2 separate regions of the Homo sapiens genome follow, and region 1 is linked to region 2. The links are contacts of gene promoters, found by promoter capture Hi-C in human tissues and cell types (Jung and others, 2019). All regions are on one chromosome and are shown on one strand. The core of a region is centred on a gene start or on the middle of the fragment in contact, and the rest is flanking DNA. Distances in the headings are between cores, read along the strand shown.

The links. Contacts are between HindIII fragments. The study calls those that stand out against the background at their distance.
Region 1: a contact is called between a fragment that was not itself captured here and the fragment with the promoter of ABCB11 in region 2, in 4 of the 25 tissues and cell types used here (IMR-90 fibroblasts, bladder, hippocampus and 1 more).

Annotation. Positions count from the first base shown.
Region 1 is chr2:168,985,846-168,993,282 of GRCh38, reverse strand. It overlaps ABCB11 (ATP binding cassette subfamily B member 11), which reads left to right. Exons shown (of 28, transcript NM_003742.4): 9 at 2,358-2,482; 10 at 6,999-7,173. Among named protein-coding and RNA genes, the nearest start is that of ABCB11, 42 kb to the left of the region's middle. The HindIII fragment of the contact is 4,342 bases long and covers 1,114-5,455 here.
Region 2 is chr2:169,028,795-169,035,785 of GRCh38, reverse strand. ABCB11 (ATP binding cassette subfamily B member 11) reads left to right here and starts at 4,462. Exons shown (of 28, transcript NM_003742.4): 1 at 4,462-4,561. RefSeq lists an enhancer at 1,193-1,487. The HindIII fragment of the contact is 8,591 bases long and covers 2,321-6,991 here.

The DNA of each region.
Region 1 (7,437 bases), core at 2,035-4,534, 41 kb after region 2:
CTCTCCAATATGCCTATTGTTCTCCATGTCCTCCCAAGCTTGGGCACTTCCCTGAAAAGGCACAACAGACAAAGAGCATTAACAAGCACACAAGAAGGATTTCTGCAATCACAACTGTGTTCTCCATTTCATCTTATCTTTCAGATAACCTCTTTCAGAGAGAGGTGATCTGACCCATTCCAAGAGTTATCCCAGTCACTGTCTCGGTTCCCCAGGAATTGAGGCCTGGACAACATATAGGAATAGGAATTTCGGGTCACATCAGCTAAAAACACTCCCAAGGACTGAGAAATTATTATTAGAGCAGCCACATTAGATAGCACGTTATGGAATCAGGCATACTAAAACTGTGCTATAAATGAGAATAGAATTTAACTGAAAAACTGCATACACCCTCACACATCGTTGAGCAATAGGTACCAACTTCCTATTGCTCAATAGCAAAATATTCTCACAGTGTCTACATTATTCAAACATTTCCCAGATAAAATAGAAAATGGTTTAAAGTGACAATAGCAAAGAGCTCGCTCCATTTCATTAGGTCACCACTTGGCTGTACCGCTAACAGGTTGTGTGACTCAGGAAAAATCCATTTAACCCCTGAAAACCTCAGTTTCCTTGTCTTTAAAATAGGGATAATACCTCCCAAAAACATTATGATGATTCAGGGAATAATCCACGTTATGCATTTAAGCCGTGTCGGGCACAGAATCAATTGCTAAAGAGAGATGTATATGTTTTTCAATCCACTATATCATTCAAGTTTTACGGCAGTCTTTCCTACTAACCACTTTCCAACTATACTCCAGAGAACCCTCAACTTCCACAGAAGAGCTTCAGGGGTTTTGCAAACATTTTTTCATTTTTTTTCTGAATACACTAATCTCTTTCTTCAAACCTGTGATAAAGTAATATACACACTCACGTGGATCATAGGCCACATTTCAACATGTTGGAGGTTAACATATAGCCCAGTTCACTTGGTTTTAAACAGCTCTAACGCTTAGTTTCTCTAGTCATCTCAGTACCCATTTCTAGCTTCTCATAAACTCGTCACTGATTTGGAATGTTGTAGGTCTGCACATGTCTTGTCTTGCTTTCAAGTCTGTGTATGCTTGTCCTTATACAACAAACTTCTACAAGCAACTATACAACAAACTATACAAGCAACTTCACTAGGCTCAAATGTAAATTTTAATGTTAATAAAAACAGCTTCCAGTCTTGGTAACACAGTGAGATCCCATCTCTACAAAAAAAAAAAAAAAAATTTTTTTTAAATAGCCAGGCATGGTGGCATGTGCCTATAGTCTCGGATACCCAGGAGGCTGAGGCCAGTGAAATGCTTGAGTACAGGAGTTTGAGACTGCAGTGAGCTAGGATCATGCCACTGCATTCCAGCCTGGGCAACAGAACAAGAACCCGTCTCTTTAAAAAAAAAAAAAAAAAGCCTCACTTTCCTTACTGTTACATGTTTAATTCACATGTTTTATAAAATGTACACTGATGAAATTAATATATTGTTTTTAAAAACTACTATGAATACTTACTTAATTTACATCTTAGAATTCCATCTAAGATTTTGATAAGAGTTTTGCTGCTAAAAGTTTGGAAAAACTACTGGAAGATAAACTCCCTTAATCTGGGTATTATATATATTTTTATATTTCTGAGCTAGTTGATCTTCCGCAATATGTGTTTTTTCCTCTTCTTATTTATTAATCTGTGCCAGGGTTTTCTTTGGGGGTTCATTTTGACTAGGACTCAATCCAAGTCAGTTTTAGAAAAAGTAATGTGTCTACTGTTAAGTACAGATGTCTTTTCATTTCCTTTTGTAAAAATCAAAACTACATAGTTGAGCGTCTCCAACTGAGTGAAAATGGACTTTCTTTTCTGGAATCATCTGAAATCGTCTTTCAACATCATGCCTATACTTTATATGTTATATGTCATATATTATACCCAATCATGATATCTGCATGTGTCTCTGGCGTTTGTCTATAAATTATGCAATGGCCATTGGCTAATAGCAATGAACTATGACATGGTCTAACTTAACACTTTATTAGTATAATGACTGAAACACTTTAGTCTTACAGAATGTCCTATTTGGAATTTATTCTTTGAGGAGGTTCTTACTTTTAGTAGGGTCATTTTGATATATCAACAACCAGACAACCCTGGATGAAGCTTACCATAGACCAAATTTGGACCAGATTTCTTCCTCCTGTCAATGATGTTACAGTGAGAATCTAATATTGTATTAAACCCATGCCACATGTTAAATGAATCTGAATGACAGACTGACTTACCTAATTTCTTGGACTTCACATTTTCTTTTCTTCTTTTTGATTTTTAGAGTGTGTCCAAGTTTACGGACTATGAGCTGAAGGCCTATGCCAAAGCAGGGGTGGTGGCTGATGAAGTCATTTCATCAATGAGAACAGTGGCTGCTTTTGGTGGTGAGAAAAGAGAGGTTGAAAGGTTGGTTAATTGGAATCTGATTCTTTCCTTAATTTCATCAATCAGCATAGTACCCTGAGTCTCTCAGTTTGTGCAAAGCGGCAGACCCACCTTGGTCTGTGGCCTCCAGAGGAAGTACTTGTTCAAGAGGGAGCTAAGCAGAGTAATTTAGGTTGGTAATTTAGGTACTATAAGAAGTCCCAAGCCTTTAGCAGTATGTTTTTAAAGATGTTGCAGTTGGCAATTTTTAGAAAGCCAGCTCAGGGTAGATATTTATTTCAAACTCTGATGGTATGTATGTATAAATATTATACCTCATATCAGTCTATAATGCTGTTTGCTGTCATTAAAGAAAAGCCTACATGAGACATTACAACTGATACCACAGAAATACAGAAGATCATAAGAGATTACTAAAAACAAACGCCAACAAATTGGATGACCTAGAAGAAATGGATAAATTCCTATAAAAATACAACCTGCCAAGGTTGAATCACGGAGAAATAAAGAGAAATAAATCTGAACATACCAATAATGAGTAAGGAGATTGAATCAGTAATAAAAAGTCTCCCATGAAAGAAAAGCCCAGGACCTGATAGCTTCATTGCTGAATTTTACCAGACATTTAAAGAAAAACTAGTACCAGTCCTCCTCAAATTCTTCCACAAAATTAAAGCGGAGGGAATACTTCACACTCATTTTACAAGGCCAATATTACCTTGATACCAAAGCCAGAAAAGGATACTACAAGAAAATCAAAGGCCAATATCCATGATAAACATGGACGTGAAAATGCTCAACAAAAATACTAGTAAACCAAATTGAATAGCACATTAAAAGAATCATTCACCATGATCAAGTGAGATTTATCCCTAGGATGTAAGGATGGTTCAACATAGGCATGTCAATAAATGTAATATACCACATTAACAGAATGAAAGACAAAAACCATATGGTTATCTCAATAGATGCTGAAAAAGCATTTAACAAAATTCAATATCCTTTCCTGACAGAAACTCTCAACAAATTAGGTATAAAAAGAATGTACCTCAATACAATAAAGGTAACATATGACAAGCCCACAGCTAAATCATACTCAAGGGTGAGAATTTGAAAGCTTTTCCCCCTAAGATCAGGAACAAGACAAAAATGCCCATTCTTGCCACTTCTTAGCAACCACAAAAGACCTTGAATAGCAAAAATCCTGAACAAGAAGAACAAAGCTGGAGGCATCACGTTACCTGATCTCAAAATCTACTACAAAGTAATAGATCATTATTAGATTATTTGATTACTATAGTAATAAAAACAGCATGGTACTGGCATAGAAACAGACACATAGACCAGTGAAAAAGAATGGAGAGCCCAGAAAGAAGTCCATGCATTTATAGTCCATTGATTTTCAATAAAGAGACCAACAACACACCATGAGGAAAGGGCAGTCTCTTCAATAAACGATGTTGGGGAAACTGGATATCCACATGCAGAAGAATGAAATTTGATCCTTACCTCACACTATACACAAATATCAACTCAAAATGGATTAAAGTTTTAAATGTAGGATATAAAACTGAAAAACTACTAGAAGAAAGCATAGGGAAGAAGCTCTATGACATTGGTCTAGGCAATGATTTTTTTGACACAACCCCAAAAGGACAGGTAACAAAAGCAAAAATAGACAGATGGGATTACATCAAACTAAAAAGCTTCAAAAAGGAAGCAATCAACAGAGTGAAGAGGCAATTTATAGAATGAGAGAAAATATTTGTAACCCATACATCTGATAAGGGGTTAATATCCAATACATATAAGAAACACAAACAACTCAATGACAAGAAAACAACCTGATTAAAAAGTGGTCAAAAGACCTGAATAGACATTTCTCAGAAGAAAACATACAAATAGAAACGTACAAAAAGAAACATACAACAGGCATGTGAAAAGATGTCACACATCACTAATCATCAAGGAAACACAAGTCAAAACCACAATGAGATATCATCTTATACCTGTAAGAATGGCCATTATAAAAAGAAGAAAGATATCAAGTGTTGGCAAGCATATGGGGAAAATGAAACACTGTTACACGGATCGCTTTTGGTGGGAAAGTAAATCAGTACAGCCAAAGAGTATGGAGATTCATCAAAAAATGGAAAACAGAACTACCATATGATCCAGCATCCCCACTACTGGGTATATATCCAAAGGAAATGAAATCACTATGTCAAGAGAAAACTGTACTCTTACATTCACTGCAACATTATTCACAATAGCCAAGGTATGGAATCAACCTAAGCACCCATTAACAGACAAGTGAATGAAGAAAATGTGTGTGTAAATTTACATGCCATATTCAATAGAATACTATTCAGCCTTTAAAAAGAAGAAAATACTGTTATTTGCAGCAACACGATGAACCTGGAGGACATTATGTTAAGTGAAATAAGCCAGGCACAGAAAAATACCCCATGATCTCACTGACAGAGTTGAACTCACAGAAGCAGAGAGCAGAACAGTGGTTACCAGGGACTTTGAGGTGGGAGGGGGCAGGCGAGAACTGGGGAGACGTTGGTCAAAGGATTCAAAATTTCAGTTAAACAGGGGTAGTTTGAGATATTTTAAAAATAATGACATTAATTATCTAATTGTAGTTGTTTTAATTTAGTTCATGGTGATCTAAAAGAAACCCTTCCTTATTCACATTTAAGAGGCAGTTTATAAAGTCAAGAAATGTGTTGTTAACATGGTGACTATGGTTAATAACATCACATTGCATACTTGAAAATTGCTAAGAATAGATTTTTAAGTGTTCTCATCACACACACACACACAATATAAGTATGTGAGGTAATGCATGTTAATTATCTTGATTTAGCCATTCCACAATTTATACATACTTCAAACCATCATGTTGTATACCATAAATATATGTAAGTTTTGTCAATTAAAAAATAATAAAGAAATGCCAGCATGATTCAAAATGCTATTTCACACATTTTTATTGAACACCTTTTTAATTAAACACACTTTATTCAGGTACTGTGCTACATGTTCTTTATAAAGTCTGATAAGATTTCTATTTGGTCAAACAGGCTGGGCACAGTGGCTCACACCTGTAATCCCAGCACTTTGGAAGGCCAAGGCAGGTGGATTGCTTGAGGCCAGGAGTTTGAGACCAGCCTGGGCAACATGGCAAAACCTCATCTCTACAAAAAAATACAGAAATTAACCAGACATGGTGGTGTACACCTGTAGTCCCAGCTACTTGGGAGGCTGAGGTGGGAGGATCACCTGATTCTGGGGAGTTTGAGGTTACAGCGAGCTGTGATCATGCTACTGCACTCCAGCCTGAATGATGGAGTGAGACCCTGTCTCAAAAAACAAATTAGTGTTGAAAAGTTATAGAGCATTATTCTAGAGATTAACTCCCAGTGAAAAGAAAAACCCAAATGGCCAAAATAATACAGTTGTCCAAAATGTAATTTTGTTTATTCTTTAATTTATCTGGTATTTATTGAGTACTTACTACGTGCCATGCTTTGATTTTTATAAAATAGCTACCAACTGAATAGCAACTCTTACTTTATGTGTTGTAGATTTGGTAAGATGGTGTTATTCTCAGTTGCTACCAAATCCATCAAGTAAAAAAGAGAATAGGATTTACAACCTCTTATTATCGTCTTTTCCCCACTTCTTTTGGTTTGTGGAGTGAGGTTCCTTATTTCTTGTAAAAAATTTCAGTAGCATATTTCTTCCACCATGAAAGACATTATCTTTTATTGTCAATAAAAGAGACAGTGTAGTGTTTTAAAAATGGTAACAAACATAGGATAGACCTTCAGTTTGTGTCCTGCAAAAGGTTAAAAGTTCTCCATGAATTCAATTCCTGAGATGTAGGAAGGCAGTTTCAGAATGCCTGAGCTATATATGAGACAAAGCCCATTGTTAATGGCTAGATCATGGAATTACTGAAACCTATTCCTTGCATTGGACTTCCACATAGTTTCAGTTATCCATGTCTCATGGCTGTGAACCTGACCAGTGTGTCACAACACAGCGTCTCAGCCACAGGGCAGATGGGTGAGTTATAGATGAGTTGGTGCAAACACTAGTTCCAAGCCTGGGGAGCTGGAAACAAAAAGTCTGGTCTGCTTATTTGGAGCCAGTTGCATTATTTTCTGATAAGGACATGTCATGTGACTCAAGGAAACACTTCAAACATAATACTAGATCTCTCTTGTTCATATATTTATGTTGAAAATTCTTTTCTCTTGGGGCCAAGCTTACCTCACTATGCAATCCAAGCAGCAATCAGGCAGCTCTGTTAAGTATCGCCCTTTCAACATGTTTCATTGTCAGGTTAAAACAAACTTTAAAAAACTACATAAAGGTTATTGGAGATTTTTCTCCCTGAAGCTGCTCTGTGTTTGCGATGATTTTATGATCATTTTGTAAAACCACTGCATCACGGCCTGTTTTAAACATTATAACTTGAGCTGTTTCTGCCGAAATTGACTCAAGCATTTTGTCTTCACAGGTATGAGAAAAATCTTGTGTTCGCCCAGCGTTGGGGAATTAGAAAAGGAATAGTGATGGGATTCTTTACTGGATTCGTGTGGTGTCTCATCTTTTTGTGTTATGCACTGGCCTTCTGGTACGGCTCCACACTTGTCCTGGATGAAGGAGAATATACACCAGGAACCCTTGTCCAGGTACCTTGGACTTATTGACCGAGACATAGCATTTCCTTCTGGTATCTCAGAAAAGTCCATGGATTAGATATTTTGTTTATTACTTTGGTGCCTTCAGGAAAAAAGCATCAATGATTTTATGGAGTCTGTCTGTGGAAACAAGTAATACCTTAAATTTTTTTTTATTTCCATAATTTTTTTGGGAAACAGGTGGTATTTAGTTACATGAGTAAGTCCTTTAGTGGTGATTTGTGAGATTTTGGTGCACCCATCACCCAAGCAGTA
Region 2 (6,991 bases), core at 3,213-5,712:
CCACATAGTTGTACTCTCTATGTATTTCTAAAAATCATTAATAAAATTTTATTATGCATTATTATTGATATTTCCTTTGTCATATTCATTATTTTCATTTAATAACTTATATGTTTAAAAAATAGTTTACCCTTATTGTATATAATTTAGAAGATGCAGAAAAGCATGAGGAAGAAAATGAAAACCACCCTCATTCACATTTGCATAACCTACAGATAAGCACTTTTTATATTGTACTTCTTCCAGTCTTTTCTACATGTGTACATGACAAAATTAGGAATACACTAATTTTGGTAGGTAAAAAAATATACACAATTCAATTAAATGGCTACTTGGGGGAGGAACTCCCAATCCAGAATCTATGGCACAGGGAAGTTCAGGCAGGCCTCATCATCCTGTGCAGGTGGTATTCTCACTCCCATTTTACAGATGAAGAAACTGAGGCTAATGGAGATTAAGTAACTTGTCCAAAGTTAGATAGCTAGTAAGTGAACACAAACCTTTGTGATTTCAAAGACCATCTCTTGAGATTGGTTAACTTTTAACTAAACCTCCCAGACACACAGCCTGACCTTATCTTCCAATCTTTCTTGCAGTTAGGTGTGGTTATGTGGCACAGTCCTCTCCAGTGGAATCTGAGTAGAAGTAATGGATGCCACTTCCAGGATTGGCCCACAGGAACTTTCCATACAAAATGCTCCATATTTTCTCTTCCCTGTGTGATGGATACATGTCCATGTCCAAGGAGACCTTAAAAGCCACATGTTGAGGATGGTAGAGCTTCTGTCAGCCTGGGTCTCTGAATGACTGCATGGAGCAGAGCACCTTTGCCCAACACCGATTTCCCCTTATTCAAGGCCTACTGGACTTCACATGAGGGGAAATAATTAGCAAGTATCACTACCTTAACCAAATCATCCAACAAGTAAGTGGCAAAACCAGGATCTAAAGCCAGTTCTTTGTGACTTCACAAGCCTGTGCTCTTTTCACTATACCATTCTGCCTCCCTCTGCAGTCAACTAAACTACAGAAATTGTGTCCTTCCACACAGCTTGCTTTAAAAATACATAAGCTACCTAAGAAAGCTCTAATTTAGACATTTTTCTCTCTGCTAGTCTCTATGCCACAAAAAAACATAGCCAATTATATTGTGTTAACTGACTCATGCTGGCTTTACACAATTTATATTGATTTTCAGGGTGGTAATAACCAGCTTCTGTGATTGGTGTGCATGTGCAAGACTTCCTGCCTAACCCATCCTTCTTGTGGCTCAGCTTTGTAAACACTGGCCCTGGGTGGCCGTGAACAGAAGTTCTTATCTTAGACTGCATGCAACTCATCCTACTGGCACTGAAAGCCCTTCTTTGTCTTTCTTCACCTACTTAAGCAAATTTACAAGCCACTTTTTGCCTCTTCTCTCAGCAGCCATCTTGGTCCTTTCAATGTTGCCTGTGTGCACTCATGCTGTATTTATGACCTGGTCCCTCTCATACTTTGAGATATAACTCAAGTCCTTCCTTCTTTGAGAATCCATACTGATGGGTCACTTTTTAAATACTTAAGGTCTGCATCAAACATTATAACATTTGCTGTTCTTCTTTTTTATTCTTACTTGGTTTATATACTAAGCTTTATTATCCTTTTAAGGTTAAAACTTTCTCAAGGACACTAACTGTAATGTGTACAACTTGGTAGCCAGCGTAACATTTGACATAGTGTCTTGTAAAAAGAAGATACTCAATCAGTTTTTGAATGATTCAAAGAGTAAAATAATGGCAACTTCTTTTATCTCTTCCATAGTGCAATCTTCAATATTTTTTAAACAACTATTGGCTGAATTCTACCATTGTGGTTTAGAGCTTTCTCTGAGACATTTTTGCTAAGGTTTTGAAACAGGTTCCAAATTGGTCCACAGTGACCTCCAAGGCTCTACAGGAGTGGTCCTCAAGCTTCAGCTCATTGGGCCCCACTCCCAGAGTTTCTGATTCAGTAGGTCTCAGGAAAGGACCAAGAACATACATTCCTACTGGGTAATGAGGAGGCTGCTGCTGGTCCAGTAGTCACACTTTCAGAGCCACTGCCCTGTGAGCTCATGGCACTCCATGATTCCCGCCACACTGACATAATCCCCAGCTGACTTCAGTCTTGCTTACTCCACTCCAGGTTCAGCTTCCTTACATACACCAGGCATGCTCCTGCCCAGAGCTTTGCCCATGTGGTTTCCCCAGATACCCATGTACTTGTTCCTTTACCTCCCTCAGGTCATTCCTCATATGTCACCATCTCAGTGGGCCCTTCCATAAAACCCAGTTAAAAATGGCAACATCCTTCTCCCCTCACACGCTAACTGACACACACACATACACAAACACACTCTCTCTCTCACACAGCATACGTACACACACTCCCTATCATATCCCTTTCCTGCAATGCTTTTCTCCATACCATTTACACCATCTGATGTATTGTATGTGTTACTTCTTTGTCTCCTCTCTATACTGCCCCCTCCCTGCCCCCAGAATGTAAGATTCCTGAGGCAGAGATTCTCGTCTGTCTTATTCATTCCTGAATCCCAGAACTGAGAACAGTGTTTGGCACATAAACATTCAAAAAGAGCCGGTATTTTAATTGGGTGACTGTAGGGACCACAACCCTACCTATTTTCAGACCGTGAACCATAAAGAAGACAAGCTTATAGCTGAAGTGAATTAAGCACGATCAACTCAGTACTCACACTGCCCAGATGTGTCTGGCCAGCATGAGGGTGCAGAGGAAGACACCCTGAACTCTCCAGGGCCCTGGACAGATGGCCACTCTGTCTTCACTTTTCTCATCTATAAGATGAAGTTGTTGGATGATATATCAATATTTACAATGTTGTTTCTAGCTCTAAAACTCTATGCTTTTATCTTCCCTTGGATCTTCATGGCACCAGAAGGAAAGTCTTAGGACCCTTGGACCTGTGAGCAGATCAGCTATAGTCCTGAGTTGACAAATTTCTCTTGGCATTTTTACCCTTTGACTGCTGTCAATAACTTCAGCACAGCAAAGGTAGCAAAATTCTATTGGGAATCTTTTCCCAATCAAAGCTACAGCCCCATAGCTGTGTTGCCTTTTTGGTTTTGTGTGAAGCAAAATTTTTTTCCTGGGTCCTAATTGGTGCCAAATCCAATATTACTACATTTGCGTCAACTCAGAAGTCAACCCATTCAGTTTGCATAGAGGAAACATCTAGAAATCTTGCTTTTCTTTGCTGACCTTGATATATTTGAGATTTGAACATATAATAACATATAAAATTATATGTTATAATTTTGGGTTTTATGGGCTAAGTCATAAACCATCTTATACATAAATTCCAATAGAGAAAAAATGGTGGATGCTGAATTTTAATAAAAAATTTATGACAGAGAAACCTAAAATTGAGAAAATTTGATCTTACAGTTTAATTTCTGCAAATTAAGAAGCACTGGCCCATCAATTGCATTTCAGAGCACAGAGTGGAAGAAGGTTAGCACAGACTGGCATGTGGCTTCACATCTACTAGTTGTTACACCTTAGGAGGATTATTTAACCTCTCTGTGCTTCAGTTTCCCCAACTATAAAATAGAAATGACATGATAGCACCCAACTCCTAGGGCTGTTGAGAGGCCCAAATGAGGTGATACAAATAACATTTTTGAAGTGGGCCAGGCACCCAACCAAGTCTTGACCAATGTTGCCTATTATTATTCATTGCTGAAGGCTGGAGTGAGAGGCATTTAGGGAAAAGTAAGCTCAGGCAAAGGAGAAAAAATAAGAACATTGTAGGAAAAATGGAAAGATTCACAAGAAGGGAGAGGAAGAGGCAGCACAAATATATTGGAGGAGCTCCACATGCTTATTTGACTCAAGACCTGTTCATTTGAACCTTTAGAAAATCGTTCATCTTTGCTTATACAGAGCTTCATCTGGTGTGTCCATGCCAGGGTGCAAGAGTTGTCTGTGCACTCAGACTTTTGAGCAAGGCTGTTTCAAATGTTCTTTTAGGGTATTTGTCTCCACAAAACTCTATAGCTGGGCCAGGAGCATCTGGATCCTGCAACCAGGGATTTTCCAAGAGCAATCTTTTATATTGAGGGGGAAAGTTTAAAGGTATTTTTTTTTTTTGTCTTGTTATGTTTTTAAGTAACTTTTCACAACTACAGGCCTGTAAAAAATAAGGGTTGGGATAGCCTGAATTCCAGGGCTCTTGCTGGGCCCACTCTGCTCAATTTGCCTCTCGTTCCAAGGTGAATCAGCAATTTCCAAGGCCTGTTGACACCCTCAGAGGGTTTCCCAAGCACACTCTGTGTTTGGGGTTATTGCTCTGAGTATGTTTCTCGTATGTCACTGAACTGTGCTTGGGCTGCCCTTAGGGACATTGATCCTTAGGCAAATAGATAATGTTCTTGAAAAAGTTTGAATTCTGTTCAGTGCTTTAGAATGATGAAAACCGAGGTTGGAAAAGGTTGTGAAACCTTTTAACTCTCCACAGTGGAGTCCATTATTTCCTCTGGCTTCCTCAAATTCATATTCACAGGTAAGTAACTTATACTTGTCTCTGCAAATCCATTCCCTCTTCCCTTTAACTCTTACTTTGTGGAGTGGAGTGTTTCTGGTTTATTAAACATTGGTCTCTTGTCCAGTGTAAACAACGCTACAATACTTGGATAGAAACTTACAGGATGCATTAATGATTTCACAACATTGTATACAATACAGATGACTCTTGGTTGCTGTCTTCTTTATAGCAATGCTATTTCATGTATCAATCTCTTAGAGAGAGAGAGAGTGGTGTACATGGGTGTGTGGTACAAATGGCCGAATAGATTGAATAATCTGCTCAAAGTAAAAATACCAGTGGGCTTCTTTTTTAACTTGGCTTTGTGAAAGCACAATTCTGTTTGCTCTGATAATCACAGATTCAATGATCACAAATTCTACCCTTGAAAGCTGGTTTAATGCAGAACTACACCGACTTTATCTTTTCTCCAACACCGTACTCATTTCTTCATTGTCCCGGTTTTCAAAAATATAGATGCAAAAAAAAATGAGCTGTGGATGCATGTTTAGAGGGGAGAAAGTTTGTTTCTAGGATCTAATTTCAGTTTTTAGGTCACCCAAGCCAGTGGGAGTCACATATTGCTAATGGCTTGAGCACAGAGATCAAATATTATTCACACTTCAGACTGGGAATAAAAGACAGTATTTGTCAACATTTTGAGGGGGAATAGCTTTTTAGAGATGTTAGAGACAAATTATAGTGGTTATACCTAAAACTTTTTAATATTAGGAGTTAGTAGTGGTTTTTATTAAACATTTGAAGTGATAACTTATTTATGAGCTGTTGTTTAATAGAAGTTCTTTTCTGTGGGCAACCTCGTCCCCTCACTGCTCACCCCCCTCACCTTGGTTCCCCCTGCTGTGCTCTGTAACACTGTGATTGTCTCTGGTTGAAGCCTCCATTTCCCTGTCTAGGAGCTTCTGTTTACACTCCACCCCACTCTAGATTGCAAGCCCCTTGAATAATTTTTGTTTCCTAGTACCAAGAATAATGGTGACAAATATTAGGGGATGACTCCTAAAAATGGATTAAGAAGCTATTTAGGGGGAAAATGCCCATTTTGTGGTTTTAAAAGATGCTACAATTGCCATAAAATGCCCAAGTTTCATTGCAGAAATCAAATACTGGAGTTGTGTTTTGCTTGGTCAAGAGGAAAGAACTGGCCGGGCGCGGTGGCTCACGCCTGTAATCTCAGCACTTTGGGAGGCCGAGGCGGGTGGATCATGAGGTCAAGAGATCGAGACCATCCTGGCTAACACGGTGAAACCCCGTCTCTACTAAAAATACAAAAAATTAGCCGGGCGCGGTGGCGGGCGCCTGTAGTCCCAGCTACTCGGGAGGCTGAGGCAGGAGAATGGCGTGAACCCGGGAAGCGGAGCTTGCAGTGAGCCGAGATTGCGCCACTGCAGTCCGCAGTCCGGCCTGGGCGACAGAGCGAGACTCCTCTCAAAAAAAAAAAAAAAAAAAAAAAAAAAAGAGGAAAGAACTGTACATTTAGAGACAAAGAATCGCTGTGGCAGTTAACTTTGGTGTTACATTCTGTTTTCTTCCTAAGCAATTCTTTAGTCCTCTACCTCAACGGTGCCTCTGAAGAAAGGACTTACGTGGCCAATGGGATCACCGTGTATTTATTTCCCTTCCCTATCAGCCATAGCCCTCAGGGCTGGAAGGGCCTCATTTTAGTCTATTCCCAGACTGGGTCACCCACAGTGTTGACACACAGCATCAACCGACAGTGAGCTTATCTGGAAAATAATGCCTTTCTATTTTCTTTGTTTCTTAGCATATATTAAATGTTTCTTTCCTTCTCTAATAATCTTTTAGATAAAGAAATCATTTGCTGAGCTGATAATAACAAAAGTATCCTACCTACATTTTTAAATGTCAGCAGTGAAAGACGTTTTAAGGGCTTTAAAAAAAAAAAAAAGAAAGAAAAGAAAACTGTAGTTTAGAAAGGACATCCAAATTGAAGAGGAGCAGGGGCAGTTCTGTTCTCTCTGAGCAGCTCTGTGAAGGGGGAGTTTGTGGCGCTGGGGTCTTGAAAGTCTTTACAGAGGGCAAGACTTCACAAGAGAAAAGCCGTGGAGGGACCCTCACATGATCAGAATATTCACAGTGTGATGTGGGGCATGGTGGGGGCGGGTGCTCTCCACTCCCGGGCCTGGCTTGGTTCCCCTCACTGTCCTCAGCTCCTCAATGGCTTTGAGGACATTTAGATTCTTCTTACCATCTTGGCCTGAATGTGGAAAAAGCTCTTTTTCCTTAATTAAGTCTAGAAAAGGTCAACATGTTTCAAAAAATAGCATTTGGGTGGAAATTAAATGGAAAGTGGAACAAATCTCTGCAGAGAAAATGCAAAACCCTAGAACACAGACAGAGCCATCTCTGCCTCTTGGTCTGGTGGGA